4 separate regions of the Homo sapiens genome follow, and all the other regions are linked to region 1. The links are contacts of gene promoters, found by promoter capture Hi-C in blood cells and fetal thymus (Javierre and others, 2016). All regions are on one chromosome and are shown on one strand. The core of a region is centred on a gene start or on the middle of the fragment in contact, and the rest is flanking DNA. Distances in the headings are between cores, read along the strand shown. Region 1 holds the start of WSB1 (WD repeat and SOCS box containing 1). Region 2 overlaps KSR1 (kinase suppressor of ras 1). Region 3 overlaps KSR1 (kinase suppressor of ras 1). Region 4 overlaps KSR1 (kinase suppressor of ras 1).

What was found. Contacts are between HindIII fragments. The CHiCAGO score rates a contact against its expected background, and 5 or more counts as called.
Region 2: a fragment that was not itself captured here is called in contact with the fragment with the promoter of WSB1 in region 1 in 1 of 17 cell types (activated CD4 T cells); the score reaches 5.4 in activated CD4 T cells.
Region 3: a contact is called between a fragment that was not itself captured here and the fragment with the promoter of WSB1 in region 1, in 1 of 17 cell types (monocytes). The highest score is 6.7, in monocytes.
Region 4: a fragment that was not itself captured here is called in contact with the fragment with the promoter of WSB1 in region 1 in 2 of 17 cell types (activated CD4 T cells and naive CD8 T cells); the score reaches 6.0 in activated CD4 T cells.

What each region holds. Positions count from the first base shown.
Region 1 is chr17:27,291,191-27,298,204 of GRCh38, forward strand. WSB1 (WD repeat and SOCS box containing 1) reads left to right here and starts at 2,924. Exons shown (of 9, transcript NM_015626.10): 1 at 2,924-3,245. The coding sequence starts at 3,206. MIR4522 (microRNA 4522) reads right to left here and starts at 2,806; the gene lies at 2,720-2,806. RefSeq lists enhancers at 2,653-2,702, 3,073-3,132, 3,143-3,202 and a silencer at 2,743-2,952. The HindIII fragment of the contact is 5,795 bases long and covers 1-3,840 here.
Region 2 is chr17:27,542,393-27,549,406 of GRCh38, forward strand. All of the region lies in intron 1 of KSR1 (kinase suppressor of ras 1), which reads left to right. LOC124903960 (a long non-coding RNA gene) reads right to left here. Exons shown (of 2, transcript XR_007065680.1): 2 at 1-1,581. Among named protein-coding and RNA genes, the nearest start is that of LGALS9, 85 kb to the right of the region's middle. RefSeq lists enhancers at 414-914, 915-1,415 and a silencer at 2,089-2,148. The HindIII fragment of the contact is 4,629 bases long and covers 564-5,192 here.
Region 3 is chr17:27,523,421-27,530,434 of GRCh38, forward strand. The region is part of intron 1 of KSR1 (kinase suppressor of ras 1); the gene reads left to right. It also overlaps the pseudogene MSANTD3P1. Among named protein-coding and RNA genes, the nearest start is that of KSR1, 70 kb to the left of the region's middle. The HindIII fragment of the contact is 4,109 bases long and covers 2,283-6,391 here.
Region 4 is chr17:27,466,555-27,473,568 of GRCh38, forward strand. All of the region lies in intron 1 of KSR1 (kinase suppressor of ras 1), which reads left to right. Among named protein-coding and RNA genes, the nearest start is that of KSR1, 14 kb to the left of the region's middle. RefSeq lists enhancers at 19-458, 5,283-6,047, 6,048-6,812. The HindIII fragment of the contact is 3,461 bases long and covers 2,482-5,942 here.

The DNA of each region.
Region 1 (7,014 bases), core at 1,674-4,173:
TCAGGGAGAAAAAAAAAAAAGAAAAAGTCATCACAATAATTCACTGATGGACACTCAAGAACTGGTATTTCCCATGAATTTGTATGGTATAGTACAAGTAACAGGGATAATAGCAGTTGGTTAAAAGAATTAACTGAGATGGATATAAATGTTGGTATATGAGCTACAAGACTGCATTAAAGTTTTTCTGTAATGTATGTCAATACACTGCTCATATGTTGTGAGCATGAAATCGGTTAATCCACAGAAGCACTTATATGGCTCAGTGCTTAGAAGTATCTATTACTAATGAGTACACAAATCATAAAATTATTTTTCATTCCATTGTCATGCTTTGCCAGTTGAGAAAATGGCCAGGAAGTCTGTTGGCTTGCAGGAATAAACTAAAATAGAAATTAAACAATTGTATTAAAAAGTCTGGCCGGGGTGGCTCACGCCTGTAATTCCAGCACTTTGGGAGGCCAAGGCGGGCAGATCACTTGAGGTCAGGAGTTTGAGACCAGCCTGGCCAACATGGTGAAATCCCGTCTCTACTAAAAATACAAAAATCAGCCAGCCATGGTGGCGTGTGCCTGTAATCCCAGCTACTCGGAAGGCTGAGGTAGGAGAATCACCTGAACCCAGGAGGCAAAGGTTGCAGTGAGCCGAGATCGTGCCACTGCACTCCAGCCTGGGCGACAGAGTGAGACTCCATCTCAGGGAGAAAAAAAAAAAGAAAAAGTCATCACAATAATTCACTGTTGGACACTCAAAAACTGGTATTTCCCATGAATTTGTATGGTATAGTACAAGTAACAGGGATAATAGCAGTTGGTTAAAAGAATTAACTCAGACTGATATGAATGTTGGTACATGAGCTACAAGACTGCATTAAAGTTTTTCTTTTGTTCTACTCTAAAAATTCAGCAACTAGGCCCAGTGCCTGATACAGAGTGAGTCCTCAAGATATCGTTGACTGAAGCTAACAAAGTGATTTATTGATTTATTTATTTATTGAGACAGAGTTTCACTCTTGTCACCCAGGCTAGAGTGCAGTGGTGCAACCTCAGCTCACTGCAACCTCTGCCTCCCGGTTTCAAGCAATTCTCCTGCCTTAGCCTCCAGAGTAGCTGGGACTTCGCCACTACGCCTGGCTAATTTTTTGTATTTTTAGTAGAGATGGGGGTTTCACCATGTTGGCCAGGCTGGTCTCGAACTCCTGACACCCGCCTCAGCCTCCCAAAGCGCTGAGATTACAGGCGTGAGCCACCGCCCCCAGCCTAACAAAGTGATTTTTTTTTAAAGACGAGGGGCAGGCAGGGCGCAGTAGCTTAACGCCTCTAATCCTAGCACTTTGAGAGGCCGAGGTGGGCAGATCACAAGGTCAGGAGTTCAAGACCAGCCTGGCCAATATCGTGAAACCCCCTCCCTACTAAAAGGATGAAAAAAATTAGCTGGGCGTGGTGGCAGCCACCTGTAGTCCCAGCTACTCGGGAGGCTGAGGCAGGAGAATCGCCTGAACCCGGGAGGCAGAGGTTGCAGTGAGCCGAGTTGGCGCCACTGCACTCTGCTCTGGGAGACAGAGCAAGACTCCGTCTCAAAAAAAAAAATAAATAAATAACCAAAAAAAAAAAAAAGGAGGGGCGATGTTTTATTAAACATTTCGCTATTTGAAGAATTAATACACTCATGCAAAGAAAAGATGAAGTAAACATGCCCTACAGTGTTATCATTTGAGATCTCTTAAAAGCGGCTATGCAGCCGGGCGTGGTGGCTCACGTTGTAATCCCAGCACTTTGGGAGGCTGAGGCGGGCGGATCACTCGAGGCCAGGAGTTCGAGACTAGCCTGGCCAACAGGGTGAAACGCCCTCTGTACTAAAAATACAAAAATTACCCGGGCTTGGTGTCACATGCCTGTACAAATCCCAGCTACTGGGGAGGCTGAGGCAGGAGAATTGCCTGAACCCGGGAAACGGAGGTTGCAGTGAGCCAAGATCACGCCATTGCACCCCAGCCTGGGAGAAGCGAGACTCCGTCTCAAAAAAAAAAAAAAAAAAAAAAAAAAAAGCGGCTATGCAACACTCTACTCTGTCCCATGAATATCTGCCACATATTTGAATTCCCAGTCTTATACGCCCCAGGCCTTTGCAATGTTTAGGGTCCACACGAGAAGCCATTAAAATGCAAATACGTCATCTGTGACCGGGAACCAAGCTGGCATCTAGCAGATACTGACACATTTATCAGTCTGATGTGTGGACAACTAGGTGCCTCCCAGAGGCCTTCAGGTAAGGTGGAGGAAGGGCCAATTCTGAGCTGACACAGTGGGATCCATCTTGGCCAGGACAGTGGGATCCATCTTGGCCAGGACAAAGGCAGTCCAGAGAGGCCCCGCGGCGCGGTGCGGCGCGATCACGCCCGAGTCTCCTTCTCGTTCCCCTCGGCCCTTCCTAAAACCTGCTGGCTCAGGTCTGAACAATCGCAGCTGGACAGGTGGTGCACAACGATGTTAATTTTCATCCTGTCTTTTTCATCAGTGCATCCTTCAGTTCCCTATTACTTGTGGGCTGGGGAGTTGGCCAAATTGAGTGAAAACCTGAAATGTCTTTTTGTTCTTTTGGTTCAGCCAGTTTAAGTTCCATGCAATCTTTAAGCTAGGAGGCTAATAATAATACAATTCTCTGCTTGCCCTTTTCAAAGCCACTTCAGCTTATAAACTCCATATTAGACCATCCAGGCCCAGAAGACGCCACCGGCCTACAGGCAGAGTCAGCGGAACCAGCCTGGGCTGGATCTCCCCCTGCGAGGCCCCCAGGCAACGCCCGCGCCGGGCCGGGGAGATCACGTCCCGTGCGTCGGGAGGCGGGGGCCTCGGGCTGTGACGTCACGTGGCCGCGCCCCTGCCGCCCAGATATCTCCGGCGCCGCCCGCCATTTTGACTCCAGTGTCTCGTTTGCAGTCGGCGCTTTAGGGGAACTGTCTTCCTCCGCAGGCGCGAGGCTGGGTACAGGGTCTATTGTCTGTGGTTGACTCCGTACTTTGGTCTGAGGCCTTCGGGAGCTTTCCCGAGGCAGTTAGCAGAAGCCGCAGCGGCCGCCCCCGCCCGTCTCCTCTGTCCCTGGGCCCGGGAGGGACCAACTTGGCGTCACGCCCCTCAGCGGTCGCCACTCTCTTCTCTGTTGTTGGGTCCGCATCGTATTCCCGGAATCAGACGGTGCCCCATAGATGGCCAGCTTTCCCCCGAGGGTCAACGAGAAAGAGATCGGTGAGGATTGGGACCGTGGGTGGGCGCATGAGGGCCGAGGAGAGGCAGGGACTCCCCGGAGGAGGTTTGGGAGGAAGCGACTCCAAGTCTGAGGGAAGAGCTCCAGTGCGCCAGGGCCAGCCCACTAGCGAGGAGGAGGAAGCCGCCTCGGTGGGAGTTGGCTGAGGGGTAAACGGCACCGACGTGGATGCAGCACCTACTGTGCTCCCTCGCGGTTGCTGTGTGGCTGGGGCGGGCAAGGACCCCGGTTTCTTCGTCGGAGGTCCGCGCAGGGCTCTTGTCCTGGGAGTTCTTGGCTCAGGGCATGACTGTCGAGTGGACAGGGAAGGGCCACTCAGGGACTTTAGGTTTACAATGGGGAAAAGTAAACTTGTGGGTTGTAAGCGGTAATGAAAGGAGGGGGTCCTCGTGTGTACCAACCACTCTTAGATAGAAATGAGATGGAAGAGGTCCCAACAGCCTGGCAAAAGCAATACAGTATTTTTAAAATGGTGTGGCCTTAAGAAACGCAGCGGTTCGGGGGAGGAGACTTTTAGAATTATCTTTCAAACACTTAAGGGAGGAGCTGGGTGGTTGGGTGGAGTGACAGAAGGAAAGCTTTTGTGCGGAAGAGGAAACTCTGGAAAAGGCTTTTCTGGCTTAGTGTCTAGCCCTGGTCGGCTTAGTAAAGGGCAATTAGTGTTGAAGGTTGTGCGTCCACACCTACTTAGTGGCTCAGTGGAAAGCACGTCGCATTATTTAAATCCTCTTTTAAAGTAAAATAACTGGAACAACGTTTGACGGTGTTGGGGGGTGCTGTACATTGGCTGATAACACTTAGCAAACACTGATCTTACTGTGTGAAGTAATAATTAGCTGCGGCCGCTGAGCAGAGAGCATTTACATTTTCCTACTCTTGAAGTGAATGTGTGCCTTTACTAAGTACAAGGAGGAGTTATTTCTAGAGAAGGGAAGAGGCTGAAGTAGCCAAAACGCGCACTATTTTGTATGTGGGTGAATTTTTATATCTAGAAACAGCTGTTTTAGAATTCTGGACTTTTGTTGTCTTAGGGATGATTGATTAGGAAGGGACTTTAACCCTGGTTTTAATAACCATTTTTAAAGATACAAACACAGAAAAAAAAGGGAAAAAATTGTAGCAGAGTTCACACAGAAAAAAGAAAAAAAAAGATGCAAAGAACACAGAATTTGTGTCCAGTTATTATTTTAACTGTATTTTAAGACTAGAAAGTATGTCGCGAAGTGGGACAAAGAACTCAAAAGTTCTTATCAGTCCAGTGGGTTTTTCTTTTACTTTAGTACACCATAATGTTATAGACGAGTGATCTGCCTTTTTTTTAAATCTGTATTTTACTTCATCCTGATAAACCATTTTGAAAACTTTGCGGTCCTGTTTTCTCTCTCTCTTTTTTTTTTTTGAGATGGAGTTTTTGCTCTTGTTGCCCAGGCTGGAGTGCAATGGCACGATCTCGGCTCACTGCAACCTCCGGCTCCCGGTTTCAAGCGATTCTCCTCCCTCAGCCTCCTGAGTAGGTGGGATTACAGGCATGCACACGCCCGGCTAATTTTTGTGTTTTTAGTAGAGATGGGGTTTCTCCATGTTGGTCAGGCTGGTCTCGAACTCCCGACCTCAGGTGATCGCCCACCTCTGCCTCCCAAAGTGCTAGGATTACGGGCGTGAGCCACCCCGCCCAGATTTCCGGTTTTGTTTTCTAAGAGATGGATAGAGATGGATAGCATACCTACATAAAGTAGAACCATCCACTAAGTGTTCCCCCACTAGCCCCCTGATTTCTCTTTTCTTTTCTTTCTTTTTTTTTTTCATATTTAGGTCTCAGTGTTATTTCCTGGATACGTTATAAAAACTTACTAGCTAAGTGCCAGATATCTAGAAGAACTTTTGCTTTTTCTGAGCTTTTTTTAACCCCAGTTTTTTTCTTTGTTTCTTTTTTTGAATTATCATTTGGATACAAGGTTGAACATTTCTCTGCGTAGCTTTTTAAATCTATGAATAAGGATTTACTTTTTTTCTTTTCTTGGGTGTTAATTAAAAGCCAAGCCAAGTTTAGTTTCTCAAGGACATACGGAGAGTAGAGGCAAGATTTCCATGAATGATTAAATAATTCTGTGATACTACTGCCTTGAGCTACTGCCCTTTTTCACAAGGCACTGCCACAGATCATCCCTTTCTGGTTATGAAATTTTGGGGAGGAATGTAAAGAAGGAGCTAAATCTGGTTTGCTTGGTTCAGCAGTGACTCAGATGGTATGTTACTGTTTTACAGATATTAATAATGTAGTGTTGTATCTTACGGCTGATTTCCCATGGCAGCCTTTCCCTTAATAAGGTCATTAAATCATACATTTCTGTTGCTAACATTAAACAGTTACAGATAATGTAATAAAGGTTTAACTTAAAAATTTTTTTTCAAAGCACTTTATTACAAACTTTGTGCTAGGTTTATAAAATTGTACCAGTATTTAATCTGAGCACTTAAATCATTTTATTAAAGTGCCAAAGGCAATTTGATATACCTGTTATCCAGCAAAGAAACACAAGGCAATTATTAGTAAATTTTAACAGATTAATGCATTTATTTGGTAGGTTTTATAATGGCTCTATTTCTTGAGTTTGTATATATTTGAGAATTATGTTATAAATATGTTATTATTTCATTGTCTTTGCTATCTATTTGAACCAATTTTTTAGTAATTGTTACCGCTCTTTTACTTTTTTTTTTGTTCCTTTGAGACTGAGTCTCGCTCCGTCGTCCAGGCTGGAGTGCAGTAGCGCAGTCTCAGCTTACTGCAACCTCCACCTCTCGGGATCAAGCAGTTCTCCTGCCTCACCCTCCCGAGTAGCTGGGATTACAGGTTCGTGCCACCACACCTGGCTGATTTTTTGTATTTTTAGTACAGATGGGGGGTTTCACCATGTTAGCCAAGCTGGTCTGGAACTCCTGACCTCAGGTGATTCACCCTCCTCGGCCTCCCAAAGTGCTGGGATTACAGGCGTGAGCCACTGCCCCCGGCCTACTCTTTTTTTTTTTTTAGACAGAGTCTTGCTCTATCACCCAAGCTGGAGTGCGGTTGTGAAATCTTGGCTTTCTGCAACCTCTGCCTCCTGGGCTCAAGCAATTCTCCCACCTCAGCCTGGTACTACAGGTGCATGCCACCACACTCGCTAATTTTTTAAATTTTTTGTAGAGATGAGGTCCCCTATCTATCCCAGGCTGGTCTCAAACTCATGGGCTCAAGTGATCCATCCACCTTGGCCTACCAAAGTGTTGGGATTACCAGTGTGCCTGTCCTATTACCACTATACACAAGGAGTTCCATGATTGTGGTCAAGGTAGAAGAAAAATATAGAGTAACCTTAAAATACAGTCTAGGCTGGGCACGGTGGCTCATGCGTGTAATCCCAGCACTTTGGGAGGCCGAGGTGGGCAGATCACCTGAGGTCAGGAGTTCAAGACCAGCCTGGCCAACATGGTGAAACTCCGTCTCTGCTAAAATATACAAAAGTTAGCTGGGCGTGGTGGTGGGCATCATGATGGTGCATACCTGTAATCTAAGCTACTCGGGAGGCTGAGGCAGGGAGAATTGCTTGAACCCGGGAGGCAGAGGTTGTAGTGAGCGGAGATCATGCCACTGCACTCCAGCCTGGGCAACAGAGCAAGCCTCCGTCTCAGAAAAAAAAAAAAAAAAAAAAAAAGTCACGTATGAAAAATTTAAGTCTTGCTTATGCTTGCTAAGGGAGAGCTTAATTT
Region 2 (7,014 bases), core at 1,628-4,127, 250 kb after region 1:
GCCCTGCTTCTGAGACATGAAGATCTGGGCCACTGAGAGGGTCCTGTGGCAGCCAACGACCAAAGTCAGGGTTAGGGTGACAACCTATAATAGGCCTTGGCATCTGGCTGCTAACATAGCCAAGATCATGGGTTTGAGAGTTGCCCACAGAAGAGATCTCCCCATCTCAGGCCCTGCAATTTTAGGGTGGAGCTGACTTTGTTTGCAAAGTCAGTCGTCTGGAAAGAGGTGTTTTTTGCAAAGGTGCAAAAAAGCCTGGGTGGGGTATAATCCAAACGGCACCTGCCAAAAGTCTTCATGCTCCTCCTTTTCGAGGTCATTCTGCAGGCTGAGCAGGAGTAACACTAACAGAGTTCTATTTAGTGAGCACTTTATATGTTCTGGACATTGGACTAAACACTTTGCATACATGAGTCTGCAGCAAATTCTCAGCAGTGCTATGGGGCATGTATTATATTTTCTCTGCTTTACAGAGAAGGAGACTAAGATGATATGATCTAGATCCTGCCACACAGCTGATGTGTGATGGTGCGAGGGGTAGAGCCTCCTGGCTGCCAAACCCAAGCTTCTCGCAGAGGAGATGGGACCACTAACTAATGGTAGGCATGACCTCTGACCAGTCAGAACAGGTGCTGGTGGTAAACAGGAGGCGTGGCTCATCTGCCTGTCACTGCTGCACTTCCAGCCAGTCCAGCACAATGGCTGGCCTGTCCCTGTCCACACACCCTGTGGAAGCCGCCCGTGGGAGCTCTCTGTCTAGACTGCCATTTTAGCTGGTGCTAAATGGTCTTGCTTTTAGAGGCAAGGCAGCTATTGCTCCAGCTCCACTGTGGCAGCCTCCAAGGGATGGTTGGTTCTGTGGCCACAGAGGAACCCAGCCTCCCAAATCAGACTGGCCCATGGGTAGGTTGCCTGGGACAGCCATGACACACCATGGAGGATGGGCCCAGGACCCATGCTATGGGGCACCAGCTATGGAGAGGCAGGTTGGGGCGCAGTGTAAAGGAAGGATGACAAGGAAGGGACCTGCAGGGTAGGGGTGTGAGGCCTCCATGTTCCTGGGGATCCCTGCAGTTCTGGGGGCTGTGTCCTTTACCTGAAGAAGTCTCTTTCCTCAGTGGCACGTGCTTCTCCTTGGCACAGTATCTGCTCAACCAGGCCCGTGCTCTCCAGGGATGTCTGACAAGCCTCACCACCATCCAAGTGATACTCGTGGAGCCTCCATTTGGGAGGCCTGTGCCAGAGTCATACCCGAGCAGCTGGGGTGGCAGATGACACTGAGGCTGATCAGGATGCCAGGTTACGGGTGCAGATGTTCCTTTGGGCAAGTGGAGCCGATGTCATTTCATTCCCGTCACATCCTCTGGTGCTGAGGTTGGAGGTGAGCACTCAAAGGAGGATAGGATTGGGTTCCCTGGAGTCAGCTGGGTGGGTACAGGTCTTGGCCGTCTCGCCTTTAGAAGAAATATATCTGATGCGTGGGTTCCTCCAGCATTGTCCTGAAGTCAAGACCAGATTTCAGGGTCTTCCTTAGTCCCATCTCTGACACGGGCAGATTCCCACCCATATCTTCTGTATTGCCTAGGGAGGTAATAAGAGAGAACCTGTCGGCTTCGCCTGAGAAGAACACCACCCACGTCCGCTGCCGCCGCAAGAGTGTTTTCTGTGTTCCACACGTTTTGCTGAGCACTTTGCATTCATATTTTTCTCATGTAAGCCTTCACAACAGCCTTTTGAGGTAGATCAACCCCATTTTACAGGTAGGAAAAGTGAGGCTCACTGGTTAGATCCCATGGCTATGTTCACCCAAGGGAGTGGTGTCAAGGGACTTTAGGGCTAGAGATGTCCTTCATGGAGCCACACTGACTCCTAGGTATGGCTGGATAGGACCCGTGGTTTGTTTTTTGCTTGTTCCAAGCACTTTGTATACGGCAACTCACTTGGCCTCAACCTCCATAAAATGATACTCTTTTTATAGGTGGTAAGACTGAAGCTGAGCCAAGGGGGATTTCCCCAAGATCTTTGATTTTAGATGTTAGAGCTGGGACTAGAGCTGAGCTCCTTCGGCCCCAGATACTTAGTGAGCGCCTGCTGTAGTATCGGTAGCACCCACCAACTGTTTGTGGCTGACCTGATACTATTCTCTTTCTGTAAGTCAGACTCTGGTCAGGGCTGGGGTGGGCCCACAGTACATTCTTGAAGCAAAAGAATATTGGGGTGTGAGAGATGTTGGTTCCAGCCCAGGGCCTCCCCTGTGGCCAGAGACGTAATGACTCTTTCCTTCTTGCTGCTGGTCCCATCCCTGAAACCCCAGGTGCTTGTCTATTCCGGAAAATTTATATCTTGCGGTTTTGTGGTTAAGAGAAAATGACGCTACCAATGAAAGGTCCCCTTTTAGGCCCCCAGGGCTGGGCTAGCAGGCCCCACTGTGGTTTGTCTGGGAAAGTAGCCCCTTGGCGCTTCTGTGACTGCAACCAACTTTCCAAGAAGTGAGAGCAGCTTCATTTCACTCTGACGGGAGTGGCTGCCTGTAGGCCACCTCCATCCTTTGTCAACCAGAGAAGTTTTGCTCCATCAGCAGAACCCAAATCTGTAGAGGTTGTTTCTTAACAAGTTCTGGGAGATAGCAGCTGCCAGGACACCAGACCTGCCAGTAGCTGGGTCGTGCTGCACTGCATGTCTTCCCTTTTCCTTGTCTCAGGCACAGCTAGCCAGGTTTATGGGTTATCTGGGTGCAAAGAAGAATCACTTCAAGTTCTGCACAGTTCTACCCATGGGCCTGCTTTGGGCTGTCTAGCGGGGATCTCTACCGGCCTTTAAAAAAAGAAACCGCTTGCTCCTCTTCTAGGGAAGCTGTCCTGGCTTTTGAGATGTTCAGACCCCTGTCTCATCACTTGCCCAGTTGGTGTTTGTTTTTCGCTGCCATTTGATAAACTTTGTGTGCCTGTCTGGCACAATGTATTGTGTTTGTGTGTTCATCCTTTCAACAAAGGTTTTAAAATAGCAAACCAGGCCAGGTGTGGTGGCTCATGCCTTTAATCCCAGCACTTTGGGAAGCTAACACAAGAGGATCACTTGAGCCTAGGAGTTAGAGACCAGCCTGGGCAGCATGGCAAGACCCCATCTCTATTATGAAAAAAGAGAAAAAGCAGCCCATGTGCTGGGTGCTGTGCTGGCTCCTGAGGTCTGCTGGTGACCAAGAACACCAGCTGGACCCCCACCTCCCAGAGTTTCCAGCCTGAAGAGGGAAGCAGACAAGCGTGAAAAATCAGAACTGCGATATGTGATCTGGGCAGGGGGCTGGAGGGCTTGAGGAAGGCTTCCTGGAGGAAGTGGTGTCTGAGCTGATCCTTGTAGGCGGAGAGTCACTGGGAAGAGCTTGCTTAGCAGGGGACCGAGTGCCTCAAAGCTGAAAAGGGCAGGCAGGTTGTGGGGAGGCTGGACTGGGGAAGGCCCAAACGCTGGCTCAGGCTAAGGCCAGGTGGGCTAATCTCAATGTTGGCCTGTGGTGGCGAAAGTCTTGTGCAAATGGCATATGTTAGGAATCACTCCCAGAGGCAGGACCCTTGAAGGCCATGTGCCAGTGACAGAAGGGCTCTAGTGCTGCTGCTTTTAGTGCCAGCAGCCTGACCTCTCCAGTTAATGTGGAAAAGAGTGGTTTTGAGTTTGCACAGCTGTTTGATTTATAGTCCTGTCTCTGGTCAGCCCTTTGAAGTGGTGGTTTCAGAGCCGCGTGGAATGGAGGGAAGGGCTGGCTGTGAGAAACATGGGGATAAGAACCACACATTTTCTTCCTCTGGCACTCCTGAGCATATGTTTTATGCCAGGTGCTGTAGTAGGAACTGGGGATATGAGGGAAATACGGTCCCTGCACTGATGTGTAATTATAGGGAGATCTAACCTAGTCTTTTGGAGGTCTCCATGCTGTAGTTGAATATGAGCTAGGTGTCATCGTTCCTGTTTACAGGTGGGTGAACTGAGACTCAGAAAAATTAATTATCTTCCTTGGGGCAGTGCAGCCTAGTATATGGTGGATTTGAACCCAGATGTGTTCAACTCAGAAGCCTGGGAGCTCGTGTCTATTGGGGGAGACTGAGGCAGAAGCTGTTAACTGTAGTATGATAGTAACTCCATGATCAGGGCTCTGAAAGAGTCACACACAACACACCAGGAAGGGGAGAGGCGGACTCTGACTTGGCCTGGGTAGGAAACTCCAGCAGGTATTGGAGGAATAGCTGCTGGGTGAGTGCGTGCCTGGTGGGCAGGGCCAGGGGCTATGGAACGGAGCTGGGGGGCTGGGGGAAGTTGGAGCCCTGGTTTTGGAATTTGCCTCTGGTCTCACTGGGCGGGATGGATCAGAGTGGGGTAAGCCAGGATAGGGCACATGAGTGCATCCTCTTAGACCTGTAGGATAAAAGCTCACTCGTGTGTCTACGGTTGTGAGCTTCATGCTCTGTAGGTGCTCCCCAGGGCTTAGGTTCCATAATAGGACAGCAAGTAGACTCAGAGTCCTGAACCTCAGCAGTGTGTTTGATTAGCAGGGTCTGCTCTGGGCACCTGAGGGGCATGGGGTGCAGGAATGTCAGGGGATCAGCCTCTGGGTCTGTGGTTTCATCAGACATAAAAACTGTACAGTTGAGAGTGTGGAATTATTTTGATTCTGACTCAGCGCTCCCTCTCCAGCAGCTGTCTGCACTTGCCACTGAGCCCCTAGTACCCTGAAGGGAGCAGGGGCCATGGGAGAGGGGTAAGTAACCCCAAGGGGGTTGAATCTGGCTCTGTCAGATTGTTGGTGAGCCTGGGGCCAAACTAGTTTTCTGGGGGAAATTTCAAAAACGCTGATGTGGTAGCAGTGGTTTCATTATTATGGGTCTCATTTCATGCTCACATCTCTCTAGCCACAGGAGTTCTTGACCTGGCGTCTGTGGATAGAATTCAGGGGGTCCATCGATGAACGTAGATGGGGAAGAAAATTGCACTTTTATTTTCATTAACCTTAACTGGAATTTAGCATGTCATTCCACTTGATTGTAGGCAATGAGGCACAGTTATCTTAACAAACACCTGTGACTCGGTCACCAGTAGGAATCACAGTTGTGGAGCTATCTGAAAAAGCAGTTTCCACTTGTCACAACTTTAAAGTTATGGCAGTTATTAGATGCACTGTTGGATGTTTAATACTTTAATAAAGAAGCTTTTATGACTCTATCACAGGTTTTTTTTGTTTTGTTTTGTTTTGTTTTTGAGACAGAGTCTTGCTCTGTCACCCAGGCTGAAGTGCAGTCAGACAAGGGATACTCAGCCTGTATCTCAATATATTTTTCTTTTTTTTCTTTTTATTTGAGACGATCACTAAGGCTGGCAGGCTGGGGTGCAGTGGCATGATCTTGGCTTCCTGCAACCTCTGCCTCCTGGGTTCAAGTGATTCTCCTGCCTCAGCCTCCCGAGTAGCTGGGATTACCGGCGTGTGCCACCATGCCTGGCTAATTTTTGTATTTTTAGTAGAGGCAGCATTTCACCATATTGACCAGGCTGGTCTCGAACCTCTGATTTTAAGTGATCCACCTGCCTTGGCGTCCCAAAGTGCTGGGATTACAGGCGTGAGCCACCATGACTGGCTGTCTATCACAGTTTTCAGTAATTTGATAAATGTGTTTAAATAGAATTGATTTCCTTTATAATTCGAAGTGTGTCGTTTTATACATTTCAAAGTATTGTTCTGTCCAGGTGCGATGGCTCACGCCTGTAATCCCAGGACTTTGAGAGGCTGAGGTGGGAGGATTGCTTGAGCCCAGGAGTTCAAGACCAGCCTAGGCAACATAGTGAGACCCCATCTCAAAAAAAAAAAAAAAAGATAAAGATAAAAAAAGAAATAAATGAAAGTATTGTTCTTTGAAAGAGATCATGGGCCTCCCTAGATTTCTAAAAGGGTCTATGGCCCCAAACTGGTTATAAGCTTTTATTCTAATTGAAAATTTGGAGCCTTTCTAGATATTTGAAATTAAAAATTATTAATTCATCATTTTTTTCTTCGTAAAATATTGTGACTCTGTTAACAAGAGTCCTTGCTCTTTAGAAAAATGTGCTAAGGTCCCGGTGCAGTGGTCCTAAGTGTTTTGTTTTATACTCAGATCAAGTGATCTGCCCACCTTAGCCTCCGAAAGTGCTGGCTCATGCCTGTAATCCCAACACTTTGGGAGGCAGAAGTGGGCAGATCATCTGAGGTCAGAAGTTGGAGACCAGCCTGTCCAACATGGCGAAAACCCGTCTCTACTAAAAATACAAAAATTAGCCCTTTATGGTGGCATGCGCCTATACTTCCAACTACTTGGGAAGCTGAGGCACAAGAATCACTTAAACCCAGGAGGCGGAGGTTGCAGTGAGCCAAGATCGTGCCACTGCACCCCAGCCTGCCAGCCTTGGTGACCATCTCAAAAAAAAAAAAAGAAAAATATAGTGAGATACAGGCTGAGTATCCCTTGTTTGAAATGCTTGAGGTCCAAAGTGTTTTGGATTTTGGATTTTTTAGAATTCTGGAATATTTGTATTATACTTAATGGCTAAGCATCCCAAACCCAAAAGTTCAAAATCCAAAATGCTCCAGTGAGCATTTCTTTGGAGCATCATGTCAGTGCTCAAAATGTTTTAGATTTTGGAGAGGTTCAGCTTCTGGGTCTTTGGAAGCGTTTCGGATTTTGGGTTTTTGGATTCGAAATGCACAACCTATATTTACAGATGAAAGGAAAAGGAATGAATTAACACCACAACCATGAGGGACAGCAGGGTTGAGAAGTGTCTCCAGAAGACAGGTTCCTGTAAGAGACTGTGAAGGTGGTACTTATTTTGGGGGGACACTTGGAAGTCACCATTAGGAGGCCACCAGAGTCTTAGCAACATTTCAGGAGCTCTCCCTGGGTCCCTGGGTCACTTGGCCGTAGCCAAGCCAGGCAACTCCCTGGTCTTCTGGCAGTGAGCTCGTTTCCATCTGTCGAGCCTAACTGGCCTCTGTTGGGA
Region 3 (7,014 bases), core at 3,087-5,586, 230 kb after region 1:
TGTTTGAATTATTTAGAAAATGAGAGACATGTTGCTGCCATCAAGTTGCTCGCAGTCTAATGGGGAAAGTTGGCAAATAAACAGCTGGAGGCTTCCAGATAGTGAATGTTGATGTTATTGACCAAGTTCCTTGTCTTGCAAGACATGACCAGTTTGGAGGGGATATTAGATAAAATAGAGTTCAAATAACAGTAACTCAAGCAAGTTAATTTTTCTCACACATAAAAGAAGTCTGGATGTAGGTAACCCAATGTCGGTGTGGTGGGTCCACAAAGTCATTAGGAACTCAGGAACCTTCCAGCTCACCCTTCTGCCATTCCTTATCCTTATGTTCCTAGATGGCTGCTGGAGGTCCAGCTTTCACATCAGCTTTCCAGGGAGCAGGATGAATGAACTGGAGAAGGATGTGTCATGTATATATTCCTTTTGAAATTACCATGTGGCACTTCCATTTATGTGTCATTGGCCAGGTATTAGTCACACAGCTACACCTGCCTGCAAGGAAGGATGGAAACGGGCCAGCTAAAACCTCAGCATTCTGTTAGGAAGAAAGGAGAGTGGAAAGTGGGAGGCCACCACTAGATGATGAAAGATGAGATAGTGAGTTTGGGTACCTCTGGCCCATGCAGGCTGGCCATCCATTTGGGGGTTAGATTGGGGCTGGAGCTTATGAGTGGAGTGGGGTTCAGAGTTTTCTAAATTGGGAGGCATAAGCGTGTAGGTGATTGTGGGAGTCCTGGGAAGGAGGCTGCTGAGTTGTCAGAAAGGTAGGAGAACTGGGAAGCTAGGGGTGGGCATGTCTGGGAGGAGAGACCACTTGGCCAGATGCCCCAGTGAGGTCAAGCAGGATGAGGGTGGGAGTGAGAACATGGACTCTGGGGGCTTCTGCAAGAGCAGTTTTGGTGGAGTAGAGAGACTAAGATCAATGGAGGAGTAATATTGAACAGCTGAGGAAATGTGTCAAGATCTTTGAACTTGAAGGGAATGAGAGAGAGAAGGGGGAGCTGAAGAGAAAGTATTTATTAAGGCCAGAAAGATTTGAATGCAGGTTTGGAGGCTGAAGGACAGCTAGATCTCCCCTCCCCATCCCCTTCCCAAGGAGGGAGGTATTGATGGGAGGTGAGGATAGGCAAATCCAGCAAGTACAGGCCGGTGGCCTCCAGTATCTCTGCAAAGGGGCTTGTAGAGCATGAAACTGGTAAGATGCTGCCCCAGGAATTGGGGAAGAGCAAGGAATTAGATAGAATCAAATCAAAGAGCTGCTAAGCCAGAGGAAGTAGGTCAAAACCTAAAACTTTGGATGTCCCCAACCCACCTGCACATTGAGTTTTCTCCAGTAGCAATTATAGGAGCAGAGAAAAAGAGATTACCCAGGATTAGAAGGCTGCAGGCAGAGCGGCAGGAAAAGGCAGGGAGGGGGCTCTGGGTTCCTGGAGTGGCAGTGGTGGTGTGGAGTTCAAGCAGGGTTATATTACATTATGCTGTAAGGTGGAAAACGGTGGGGCACATTTTAGAAATATTCCCATTAGAAATGGTAAGAAAGAAAAAATCTTATGCCCATGAAGTTGTAAATGTCAGAGCATTGTCTCATCATTACTGAAAATGTGATCATTCTAGACACACAGAATTGTGCTCTCAGTCACCCGCATCAGTCCTTCTGTATATTTTGAGTTGCATTAATTTGCAGGCCACTTATTTAATATGAAACTGTGCCTGCTTGTTACTTGGTAGCAGACCTGGGAGCCAGGTGGCCTGGGTTCAGATTCCAGCTCCGCCTCTTACTTACTGTGTGAACTTGGACAGGGCTGTGTACAGTCAAGCAGGTTGTGCACTGCACAAGGGGGTGAAGGGTTCCTTAAATCCAGACTGCCCCTATTGCCAGGAATATGCCTTTTGTGGGTCTGTGCTGTGTCTGTGCAGAGGATGGGATGCACTCTTTCACCTTGCACAAAGGCACTGCATGGGTTGGTTCTGGCTCTGGCTTTGGGCAAGTTGCCTCTGTGCATCAGTTTCGTTGGAGAGAATAAATGAGTTACCGCATGTAATGTGCTTGGAACAGGGCCTGACACATGGCTAAGAACCATGGTAAGGATTAAATGCTGATTATATGTAGTACTGGAATGAGCTGAGCCTTCTGGGTCTCCTCTGAAGGCTTATCTTGAGTTTCCCAAAGCCTGGCATTTAGGAGAGGATACAGCTCTCCACCCCTTACAGTTTGGTCACTGAGTTTGCATTTTTTCCCAAAGGTTCCAAAGGTTTCCAGAGGTTCTCTCTAAACCTTAAGCTTTTCCAGGTTGCAGCTGCTTAATCTTCAGGCAGCTGACCTTGGTGTTCCTGGTGCCTTCTTCATCTGAAAGAGGATGAGGTAGTTGGGGCCAAGGACACCCCGGGTAGTCTAGCAAGATTTGCCCTTCAGACATTTGTGTAAATCTTCTCCCTAAACATCAAACTGGAGAAATACAGGTGTGCTATAGGGAGAATGAAAAGAGCCCTTTCCAATTTGGAACAGTTTGCGTGGAAGGTGGGGCCTTGCCCCTATGGCATCCAGATCTGTTCGGTAACTGCAACTAACTTTTCTTTTCTTTTCTTTTCTTTTCTTTTCTTTTCTTTTCTTTTCTTTTCTTTCTCTCTCTCTCTCTCTCTTTCTTTCTCTTTCTTTCTTTCTTTCTTTCTTTCTCTCTCTCTCTCTCTCTCTCTCATGGTTCTTGTATGAATTCTAATTAAGAGACATTACATTCAGAATTATAGCACTCATGGTGATAATTTTCAGAAGACTGTAACAGCTTCTTTGCCACTTAAGGGGTACAAAGGGTGCAGCTGTTTCCCTGAAGGAATTCTTAAGTTAGTGACTACTACCACTCAAATTTTCCTAGTTGTCGCTCTGTTACAGGTTACTGACCGCAAGTCCATGTTCCAGACATTCTTTGCCAACACAATTAATTACAAGAGAGCCACCCCCAAAGTCTTAGGGTGAATTGGGAAAGGGCCGGTTAAATGAGGAAGCAGGCCATTCCTTGGTAAAAGTTTGTAGTTTTTTTTCCCAATACATCTTCTCTTTATTGAGAACTTCATTTTTATCCTGTGTTCCTCCTCTGCCATCTCACACTCTCGCTCTGTCTGCTGGATTTTGGCCACAATGCACCTCATTCATTTGTATCAGTTGCAATTGTAAGATGGACATTTGTTGATCATGTTCAGTCCTCGTGCATCTTTTTTAAAGCACCTTCCTGAGAGATTTTGCTCATGTAGTTTTTATTGGCTGTTATTCTGACAGCTGAACACGAGGGTTCAGGTTGAGAGGTCCTCTCACGTGTTGGAAAACGTATGAACTCTTTCTCATCATCGCACAGTTCTCTATTTGAAACAGCAAATGATTCTTGGGCCGTGGCGTGGTATTTGGGCTCCTCCTCCGGGGGGAGGGGTGGAAGGAGTGCTCTGCAGGAAGTAGAGCTGCTCCAGCAGCATGCTGGTGATCTCCTTCCCTAGGACTTGGTTACTCAGGAGGGGGCTGACGCTCCCTTTCACCTTCTCTCTCCTTTCATGGGCCATAATTGTTTTAGTCCAAGCCTTGATGTTCTCCCAGCCCTTCTTCAGCTGTTTGAAATCCGGCAGGGACAGCTCGGCTGAGAGTTGCATTCGTGGGTCAGCGCCTGCAGGTACATTGATTGCTTAAGGGCAATAGTTCACACATCACTTTTCTTACATTCCAGCACATATTTGTACTTTTCTACTAAAATCAGCAGGGTACTCTTTTCTAGTTCTGAGAAGTATTTGGCAGGTTTTATAATTTCATTGTTTTGCATTTTCCACTATATTTCCCCTGGCCGCCAGCTATCCTGTAATCCCAGCTACTTGGGAAGTTGAGGTAGGAGGACTGCTTAAGCCCAAGAGGTCAAGGCTACAGTGAGCCATGTTTGCACCACTGCACTCCAGCCTGGATAACAAAAGGAGACACTGCAGTGGCACACCCGCCCCCCCCCCCCCCTTTTTTTTCTTTTTTGAGACAAAGTCTTGCTCTGTCACCTAGGCTAGAGTGCAATGGCGTGATCTTGGCTCACTGCAACCTCCGCCTCCTGGCGATTCTCCTGCCTCAGCCTCCCGAGTAGCTGGGACTACAGGCACCAGCCACCAAGCCTGGCTAATTTTTGTATTTTAGTAGAGATGGGGTTTTACCATGTTGGCCAGGCTGGCCTTGAACTCCTGACCTCAAGTGATCCACCCACCTTGGCCTCGCAAAGTGCTGGGATTACAGGCGTGAGCCATGCCCGGCCTGACTTCTTGTTTGGGGCACAAATCAGACTGTATAAGAATCATGAGAAAAACAATAATATCTTGGGCTTTCACCAAATGTTTTATCCTGGTCAGCAGTATCTTTAGAAGACACAAATTTTCATAGTTTCTTGATTTTAGGATATATTTCATAGTTTAATATTTCTGAAATTGGGAGGCTTTGTACGATGTCTTTAATGTAGTAATTCTTTGCTCTCCCCAAATGCTGTTATTACATTGATTATGTGTCTCATAAATGAACATCCCTACCTCTTGTGGGTCATCCAGGATGGAATTTGTTTTATTGGTCAGTAGAAAAGGCTATGACCTAATTAGTGTATCGAGTAGGTATTCTGTGTAAGTTAATGCATTTATTTTGTTTTTTATTATTTTTGAGATGAAGTCTCACTCTGTTGCCGAGGCTGGAGTGCAGTGGTGCCATCACGGCTCACTGCGACCTCTGCCTACTGGGGTTCAAGCAATTCTTGTTCCTTAGCCTCCTGAGTAGCTGGGATTACAGGTGCGTGCCACCATGCCTGGCTAATTTTTGTATTTTTAGTAGAGAGAGGGTGTCACCATGTTGGCCAGGCTGGTCTCAAACTCCTGACCTCAGGTGATCTGCCCACCTCAACCTCCCAAAGTGCTGGGATTACGGGTGTGAACCACTGTGCCTGGCCAAGTTAACACGTTTAGTCTTTAACACATTTGGTCTTTGGAAGAAACTGAAGCTCAGGAATGGATCAGTAATTTGTTAAAGGTCACACCGCTAGAAAAGAGTGGATCCAGTATGTGAGCCCAGCTCTGTCTAATCATGATGTTCAGTTCTTTCTCCTTCCCAGGAGAGACCTGTACTTCTTCACTTCTGGCTCCTGCTGTTTTTTTAAGCTGAGGATGTCCTCTTCTCTTCCTATTGAAACTCCATTTCTGGGCCAGGCATAGTGGCTCACGTCTGTAATCCCAGTGCTTTGGGAGGCTGAGAAAGGAGGATCTCTTGAGCCCAGGAGCTTGAGACCAGCCTGGGCAAGATGGTGAGACTCTGCCTCTACAAAAATTAAAATAAAAAAAGTTAGCTGGGTATAGTGGTGTTCACCTGTAACCCCAGCTACTCAGGAGGCTGAGGTGGGAGGATTGCTTGAGCCTGGGAGTGTGAGGTTGCAGTGAGCTACGGTCATGCCACTGCACTTCACCCTGGGTGACAAGAGAGACCCTGTCTCTACTGGAAAAAAAAACCACAAAAATCCCAAAACAAAACTTACACCACCTGTTCCCCAAAAACCTATTGGATAAAAAAACTCCATTTATTATTCTTTCAGTTTGGATAACATTTTATGATTATAAAAATGACACCCGTTCTTTAAAAATACAAAAAAGTAAATAATAAAACTTTCCAGTGTTTACATTTTGAGATGTTAATTTTGCTATAAAAATAGAAATTGACCTCAAAGTTGAAAAAAGAAAATTAATGCCTTAAATTAAAATAAAAAAGATATGTGAAGATCATACTGCAAATGTAGTTTTCTTACCTTGAGTTGTTAACTTTCTAGAAGATTATGGGCATTGCCTCATATGATTAAGTACACTGTTAAAAGGGACTTAAAAAAAAAAAGTTGCCTCATAGTGTTCTGTGATTGACACACCAGAATGTAGTTACCTACTTCCCCATGTTTGGCTATTTTAAGTTACACTTCCGTGAATAGGCTTATGCTTACACTTAATTGTTTCTTTAGGATAAATTCCTAGAAGTGGAGTCTGGCTCAAGGGGTGAGGGCCACCTGGTGAGGCTTCTGTTGCATCATCCTGTTTCTCTGCTGCCCTCCAGGGGGGCGATGCCGCTCCACGCTCCTGCCATGCTCCTGCCACAGCCACACTGGGGAGTCCCTCTGCCAATGTTGCCAAACATCTGCCCATATGTTTCCATTTTGTATTTCCTTGCTTATTATTAAGGTGGGAGGTTTGTTATGGTTGCCGGCAGAGGTAACTTTCCTTTGAGATAAACATGTATATTTCCTTGGCCTGTTTAACTGACTTGTTTGTGCAACCCCAGTCATTCTTCAAGACCCAATTCAAAGCTCATCTTTTCCATGAACTCTTTCCCGACACCCGTCTTTTCTCTGAAGCTGGAAGCTTTAATTTTCATATCTGAATTCTCACAGCCTGTGTGTATCTGAAAACCCTTGTCAAAGACACTTTTGCATTGCAACTTGATATCTTTGGCCCCCACTTGAATCTGAGGTCTTTAGGGTAGGAGATGGGTCATTCATTTCTGTGTTGTTTGCAGGGCCTTGGCACCATACTGGGTAACTAGTGGGTACTCGATACTCTTGAATGGATGGATAGATGGACACACACTGTTCTTAACAAACCAACCAACCCATCCCACACCCGTCAGCAAAATGAGTTTAATGCCACCTTATGAAATTGCTCTCTTCCTTTCCGCATCTTTGCCTTTGGAATCAGTGAGGTTTTGCTCCATCTAAAGACCCAGCAGGGGCTGGGCGCAGTCCCAGCACTTTGGGTGGCTGATGTGGGTGGATCGCTGGAGCCCAGGAGTTTGAGACCAGCCTGGGCAACATGGTGAAACCCTGTCTGTACAAAAAATACAAAAATTAGTTGGGTGTAGTTGTGTGTGGCAGTGGTCCCGGGTACTCAGGAGGCTGCGGTGGGAGGATCGTTTGAGCCTGGGAGGTCGAGGCTACACTGAGCCGTGATTACACCACCGCACTCCAGCCTAAGCAACAGAGTGAG
Region 4 (7,014 bases), core at 2,962-5,461, 180 kb after region 1:
TCATGATCCCCCTGATGGGCAGAAAACAATCCAAGAGAAATGCAGATGGCTGTGGGTGCATTTGAGCTTGGGCTGCAGGGGGTTTGGGGGAGAGGGCTGGGCTACAGATGAAGAATGCTTTTCAAAATAAAAAAGGAAATGCTGGCTCTGAATGGAAAGGAAAGGAAGCAGCTTCCTGTTTCTCGTGGTGGCTTTTTGAAAGGAGGAGCTCTTTCTGGCCTCTTGGCCAACGGAGGCCTGGGCCGGCTGGGGCCACTCTAGGTGCGCTGGAGTCGAGGCTCCCACACTGCTGCCTGAGGTTTCAGAAAGAGCGCTGGTTCCACCCCGTTTCATTTTCCCCGGTCGCTGAGTCAAATGGATGCATGTGGTTTCCAAAACGAATATCTGTACCTGTTACAAAATGGATGTGTCATAATGGGTGACATTTACTTTTACGGCAAGCTTGCTTTGTGCCTGGCCCCCTTGTTAAGCTTTATGTAGCATTTACTTTTCACAACACCCTTGTGAGGAAGGTCTTCTCGCTGTCCCCATTTTACAGATGAAGAAACTGAGGCACAGAGGGGTTAAGTGACTTTCCCAGAGTCACATAGCTAAGGAGAGACTGAGCTGTGACTTGAACCCAGGCAGTCTTAATTCCTTGCCTTTATGACCCAGCTTGGATTTGCAAACTCCTCTCTCCGTCCAGCTGGAAAATCTGTTAGCATAGGATAATTTTGAAGACTCTGGTTGCCTTTGTCTAGGCTCTGGGGGGTAGCCCCAAACCCTGGGCCAGGCCATAGTGATTCCTTGGTGTGTAGCGGGCAAGGGAGAAACTTACTTTTTGCCCTCTGAAGGTTTACTGAAAAATTAACTCACAACATATAGATGACTAAGAGAAATGGCATATAAATTGATTCTCCCTGGTGTATCACAGAATCACAGAGCGATTACTTAATATCCCAGTGGGACCCAAATATTTCTTTGAATGTTCCTAAGAGATAGACATTATCTTGTGAATGGGTCTCTTAGGGTGTGGTTGCGTTTTTGGTCTTTTTTCCTGCAATAGATAATGAGATAACAGTGAGGGGAAGAAAAAACAATCCTTGGTCCGTGGTGGGTCCATCTGGTCATTTTATAGACAGGGGAAATGTCTCTTTCAGTGTCTGTTAATCTCTAAGGGCCTTTAGTTTAAAATGCTCATTATATCAGAGAGCTATGTTTTGAGGTCAAGTTCCCTGTGCTCCATCAGGTGAAATGCCTAGGTCTGAGTTTATGTTTTGTTTTTTTTTTTTTTTGAGACGGAGTCTCGCTCTGTCCCCCAGGCTGTAGTTCCGTGGCGCAATCGTGGCTCACTGCAAGCTCTGCCTCCTGGGTTCCATTCCATTCTCCTGCCACAGCCTCCCGAGTAGCTGGGACTACAGGTGCCTGCCATTATGCCCGGCTAATTTTTCGTTTTCGTATTTTTAGTAGAGACGGGGTTTCACCGTGTTAGCCAGGATGGTCTCGATCTCCTGACCTCGTGATCCGCCCGCCTCGGCCTCCCAAAGTGCTGGGATTACAGGCGTGAGCCACTGCGCCCGGCCATATTTTTTTTTTTTAACTTTATCATGGAAAGGTTTAAACTTGTACAAAAGTAGAGAGAATGTTGTGACCACCTCTGTGTAGTGATTACCCAGCTTCAGCAATAACCAGCTGTGGCCAATTATTTTTTTTTTTTTCTGAGATGGAGCCTGGCTGTGTTGCCCAGGCTGGAGTGCAGTGATGAGATCTCAGCTCACTGCAACCTCTGCCTCCCGGGCTCAAACAATTCTCCTGCCTCTGCCTCCCAAGTAGCTGGGATTACAGGCACACACCACCATGCCTGGCTAATTTTCTTATTTTTAGTAGAGACAGGGTTTCACCATGTTGGCCAGGCCAGCTTGTGAGCTCAAGCAATTTACCCACTTTGGCCTCCCAAAGTGCTGGGATTACAGGCGTGAGCCACCGTGCCTGGCCTGTGGCCAATCTTGAGTGATCTAGGGTATTTATGCTCTGTTTTGGCGATGGTGGCCCTGGGCAGTTCGTCTCTAGGAAGCAGAGTGACCCAGGGCGGTCTTCTCCAGCCATCCGCTTCCAGGCTGAGCTGTACCTATCTCAGCAGGCTGGGAGGAATCTCTGTGTTTTCCTATGAAAAGGCAGTTTTGATTATTTTCTCCTAAGCTTGCTCTGGCTTCTGGCAGCAGGTACATTGCAGAGTGTCCATCTCACTATCTAACCTGAGTCCCCCGCCGCACCTGAAACCTGTTCTCAGACGGCTGGGTGCTTTCCCTGTCCCACAGCAGTCCTGCCAGAGACTGAGATGAGAGTTTTTAACGAAGCAGGGCCCCCAGACCCAGCGGAATCCCACTGTGCACATCCTGATTTCCAGTCCATTCTTGCCCATGCCTCTAGTGTCTCTTCCCTTCCTTTTCCTTGTTGCTTGTTCCCATTATGAGATAAGTGTATTTCAGCTAACATTGATTAAGCTTCACTGTGTGTGGGCCCTGGAGAGAAGAGCTGCTGAGTACAGGAAGGTGCTATTCTCTGGGAGCCCCGGGCAAACCCTCATTTCTGCGGTTCCAGCCTGGAACCCGGATCCAGCACCTGTAAAAGTCTTCCTTGCCCTTCCCGGCTCTTCTCTCGAGGCTCTGCACAGTCCTTCCTGAAGCCTAGCTTTGTTGACCACTTTCTCATTTCTTTTCTCCGTGGTCTTTTGATCCCAACAGGTAGTTTTCTTTTGGTTGTTTGTGCTTTATTTTGGCTTTTGCTGTATTCTCTTGCAAGCATTTCTCAGGTGCCGAGTCACTTTTTGCTGGCTGTTTCAGTCTCTGAGTTTGGCCTCCACAACACAATCGTGATGTCACTATGGGAAAGAGCCCCTCAAGCACTTGGTAGGACATTGAGGCGTGCATTGAGGGCGCCAGGATGTGCGGGGACTCTGGGGTGAGGATGACATATTCGTATTCTGACTCCATTCCTTGCCAGCTCTGTGACCTTGGGCAAGTTCTTTAGCTCTCTGGACCTCAGTTTTCTTGTTAGTTAAAAGGGGATAAGAGTAGGTTAATTTTGGATTCTTTTGAGAACCAAGATACAGAAGGAGTGCTGGACAGTGCCTGGTACTTAGAAGGAGTTCAGTGTTTCCCCCACTGTCCCCCGCCTTTCACGTAGCATTACTCCAAAACACTTTTCCATGTTTCCCTATTATCTTCCTTTTGGTCATTTTAGTTGCCACATGAGAGTGTGTCTAGTGGATCTGCTGTAATTTGGCAAAGCATTTTCCGTGTTATTGGACATTTCAGTAGTTTCTAGATTTCTGCAATTATAAACAATGTGAATGGAATCGTCTTTATATAGGCGCTTTATTTTTGTTCCTATTCTGAATTTGTTTTCTTGGGATAATTCCCAGGAATGGAATTACTGGATCAAAGAGCATGGAGATGGAGTGTGTGTGTGTGTGTGTGTGTGTGTGTGTGTGTGTGTGTGTTAAGACTTGCCAAACTGTTCTCCCATTTTTTTTTTTTTGAGGCGGAGTATCGCTCTGTTGCCCAGACTAGAGTGCAGTGGTGTGATCTCAGTTCACTGCAGCCTGCACCTTCCAGATTCAAGTGATCCTTCTGTCTCACCCTCCTGAGTAGCTGGGATTACAGGTGCACACCACCATGCCCAGCTAAGTTTTGTTTTTGTTTGTGTTTTTTTTTTTTTTTTTTTGAGACAGACTCTCGCTCTGTGGCCCAGGCTGGAGTGCAGTGGTGCGATCTCGGCTCACTGCAACCTCTGCTTCCCGGGTTCAAGCAATTCTCCTGCCTCAGCCTCCTGAGTAGCTGGGATTACACGTGCCCGCCACCACGCCCAGCTAATTTTTATATTTTTAGTAGAGACAGGGTTTCACCATGTTGGTCAGGCTGATCTCAAACCCCTGACCTCGTGATCCACCCACCTCGGCCTCCCAAAGTGCTGGGATTACAGGTGTGAGCCACTGCGCCAGGCCTAAGTTTTGTATTTTTAGTAGAGACAGGGTTTCACCATATTGGCCAGGCTGATCTCAAATTCCTGACCTCAGGTGATCTGCCCACCACAGCCTCCCAAAGTACTGGGAGTACAGGCGTGAGCCACCACACCTAGCCCCTCCATTTAACTCCTGTTGAATGATAGCTGTTTTAAAAATTGTACTCCTGGGTAAGTATCTCATATTTTTTACAATTCTTTCTGACCTTTGTACCTTTCTTCTTCTCTCCTTTATTCTCCCCATTTTTTGACCTTGTTAGATATTCCTTATCTTGAATTTGCTATTTCTCTCTTCTGTGCATTCATTCAGTGACTTTTTTTTTTTTAAATTTCAGACAGAGACTCACCCTGTCCCCCAGGCTGGAGTGCAGTGGCACAATCTTGGGTCACTGCAACCTCTGCCTCCCGGGTTCAAGCGATTCTTGTGCCTCAGCCTCCTGAGTAGCTGGGAGCACAGGCACGCACACTACACCCAGCTAATTATTGTACTTTTAGTAAAGACAGGTTTTGCCATGTTGGCCAGGCTGGTCTCAAACTCCTGGCCTCAAGTGATCTCCCTACCTTGGCCTCCCAAAGTGCTGTAAAGGCGTGAGCCACCGTGCCGGGCCCACTCCAGTGACGATTTATTGAGCATCTGCTCAATATCAGGTTTGTTTTAGGCACTGTTTTAGGCACTGAGGAAGGAGCAAGGAAGAAAATAGAGGGCTTCCTTCAGTGGAAAGAGAAAGATAATACACATGCCAAACAGACAGACGTGCTCTCAGAAGAAAACTGGAAGTGGGTTAGAGAGAGGTGGGGGTATGGAAGAGGTGACTTCTTTAGATGGGGTGATCGGGAAAGGCCTTCCCAGAGAGGGTGACTTTTGAGCTGAGTCTTGAAAGATGAGAAGGCCACTGTAGCCTGGAGGAGTGTTCCCGGCAGAGGGACTGGCTTGTGCAAGAGCCCTGAGGCAGAATCGAGCTTGGTGTGGTCAAGGGCCAGGAGGAGGCTGGTGTGCCTGGAACACAGTGTCAGGGGAGGATGGTTGGCCTTGGGGTCAAGGAGGTAAGCAGGGGCATGGGGCTGTTTTTTCAGTGCTGGGCCGCAGGAGAGAATTAATGCACCAACTCAGCAAACAGGTGTCCTCCTACTTCCCCCTCCGCCCTCCTGGCCGGGTTTCGTGCCAGGCACTGTTCTGGAATATAAGAGTGAATGAGAGATGTATTGTGCTCCAGAAAGCCAGCTTAGTGGGGGAGTTTGTGGATGAGTAAACTCATAGAAGGTGCTGGTGAGGTGTGAATGAAGGCTCATCAGGCCGCGCAGCTGACTCATCTCTGTACTGAGGTGTGTAGGGACTTGGGAAATGTGTCTTGATTTGCACGGAACTGTGCTCTGTGCTGTCAGCCTTCACCGTGGTAACTGAAACTCAGTTCTCTGATGTAAAGCCTGGCAGTCCCGGCCTGCTTGGGGGCACCTGGACCCCTGCCAGGGAAGGGGTCCTCAGACTTGAGGTTGCCAGCTCAGATGTGGGGCTGCTGATACTAGGTATGAGTGTCTAGGCTCCCAGTTATGGGAAACAAGACCAAGAGACAGCCATGGGAAACCCCCTTCTTACTGAGCTGCCTGCCCTGACCCTTTCTCCCCTGACTGCGGACTCTGATTTGTGGCTCTGGTTGGGAATGTAGATTTGGGGACATTGTGCTCCTCATGGGTTTCTTCCCGTAGGATGGGGCAAAGAAGGGGTTATGAGATTGAGCAGATGCTTCTGGGAGTCTAGAGTGTACTCACATAGCGAGGTGTGGACCTCATGAGAGTGCCTGGAAATAGCCTGGTGGAAGATGTTGGCACCATTTCGTTTGGAGGAGGCTGAATGACTCATAAGCCCCGGGGGGCTCTGATGTCATTGAATTAGGGGCCTCCTTTGACCAGGGTTAACCAGCACCTTGGGTTCCTTGCATGTAAGCTTGTTGCTATTAAATAAATGGGAAGTGGGCTGGGCCCCGTGGCTCATGCCTGTAATCCCAGCACTTTGGGAGGCCGAGGTGGGCCGATTACCTGAGGTCAGGTGACCAGCCTGGCCAACATGGTCAAACCCCGTCTCTACTAAAAGTACAAAAATTAGCCGGGCATGGCGGTGGGTGCCTGTAATCCCAGCTACTCAGGAGGCTGAGGCAGGAGAATTGCTTGAACCTGGGAGACGGAGGTTGCAGTGAGCTGAGATCATGTCACTGCACTCTAGCCTAGGCAACAGAGCGAGACTCCATCTCAAAATGAAAATAAAAAAAAAATGGAATGGAAGGCCAGAATCCTGGGAATGTATCAGTAATAACTCAGGGCCCTATCCCTTCCTCCCACAGTTATGGCTAATGTGAAGTGGACCTGCCCAGGTTTTTTGAGACAGGGTCTCGCAGTGTTTCCTAGGCTGGAGTTCCATGGCACCATCATGGCTCACTGCAGCCTCTGTCTACCTCTCTGGCTCACCTTCAGCCTCCCAGATAGCTGGGACCACAGGTGTATGCCACCATGCCCAGCTAGTACCCAGGTTTAAGGCAGCAAGATTCTGACAGCAGTTCTCTCAGTTAATTTCTCAGTAATGATAACTTTATGAGCCCATGTAGGTGATGAAATAAGGCCCAAAGTCACACAGTAACTGGTGGAGCTGAATTGTCTGAATTTCCATTTGTGTTCATTTCATTGCCCTCTTTAGAAATTTGCTTGATCTTGGGTCTTGTTCAGGGCAGAAAGAGATAATACAAGGCTTTGGTGATGCTTAGCATTTTAGAAGAAGTAATGCTGGGTGGAAATGGATTTGGCAGTCTCGTTTTTCGCATCATTGGAATGGGAGTCCCTCACAGTTGGAGACAGGATGAAGTAACAGAGCGTGGGGATCTGGATTAACAGGTGGCCATTCGCAGAAAGGAGGCTGCAAAGCAAGAGGTGGGGGCTTCTGGCTGAGCAGGAAGGTGGGAGAGGGGCATCCTTGTGAGGAGCAGCCTGTAGGGCTGGGGTTTGGGCAGCAGGCAGGCAGAGGAC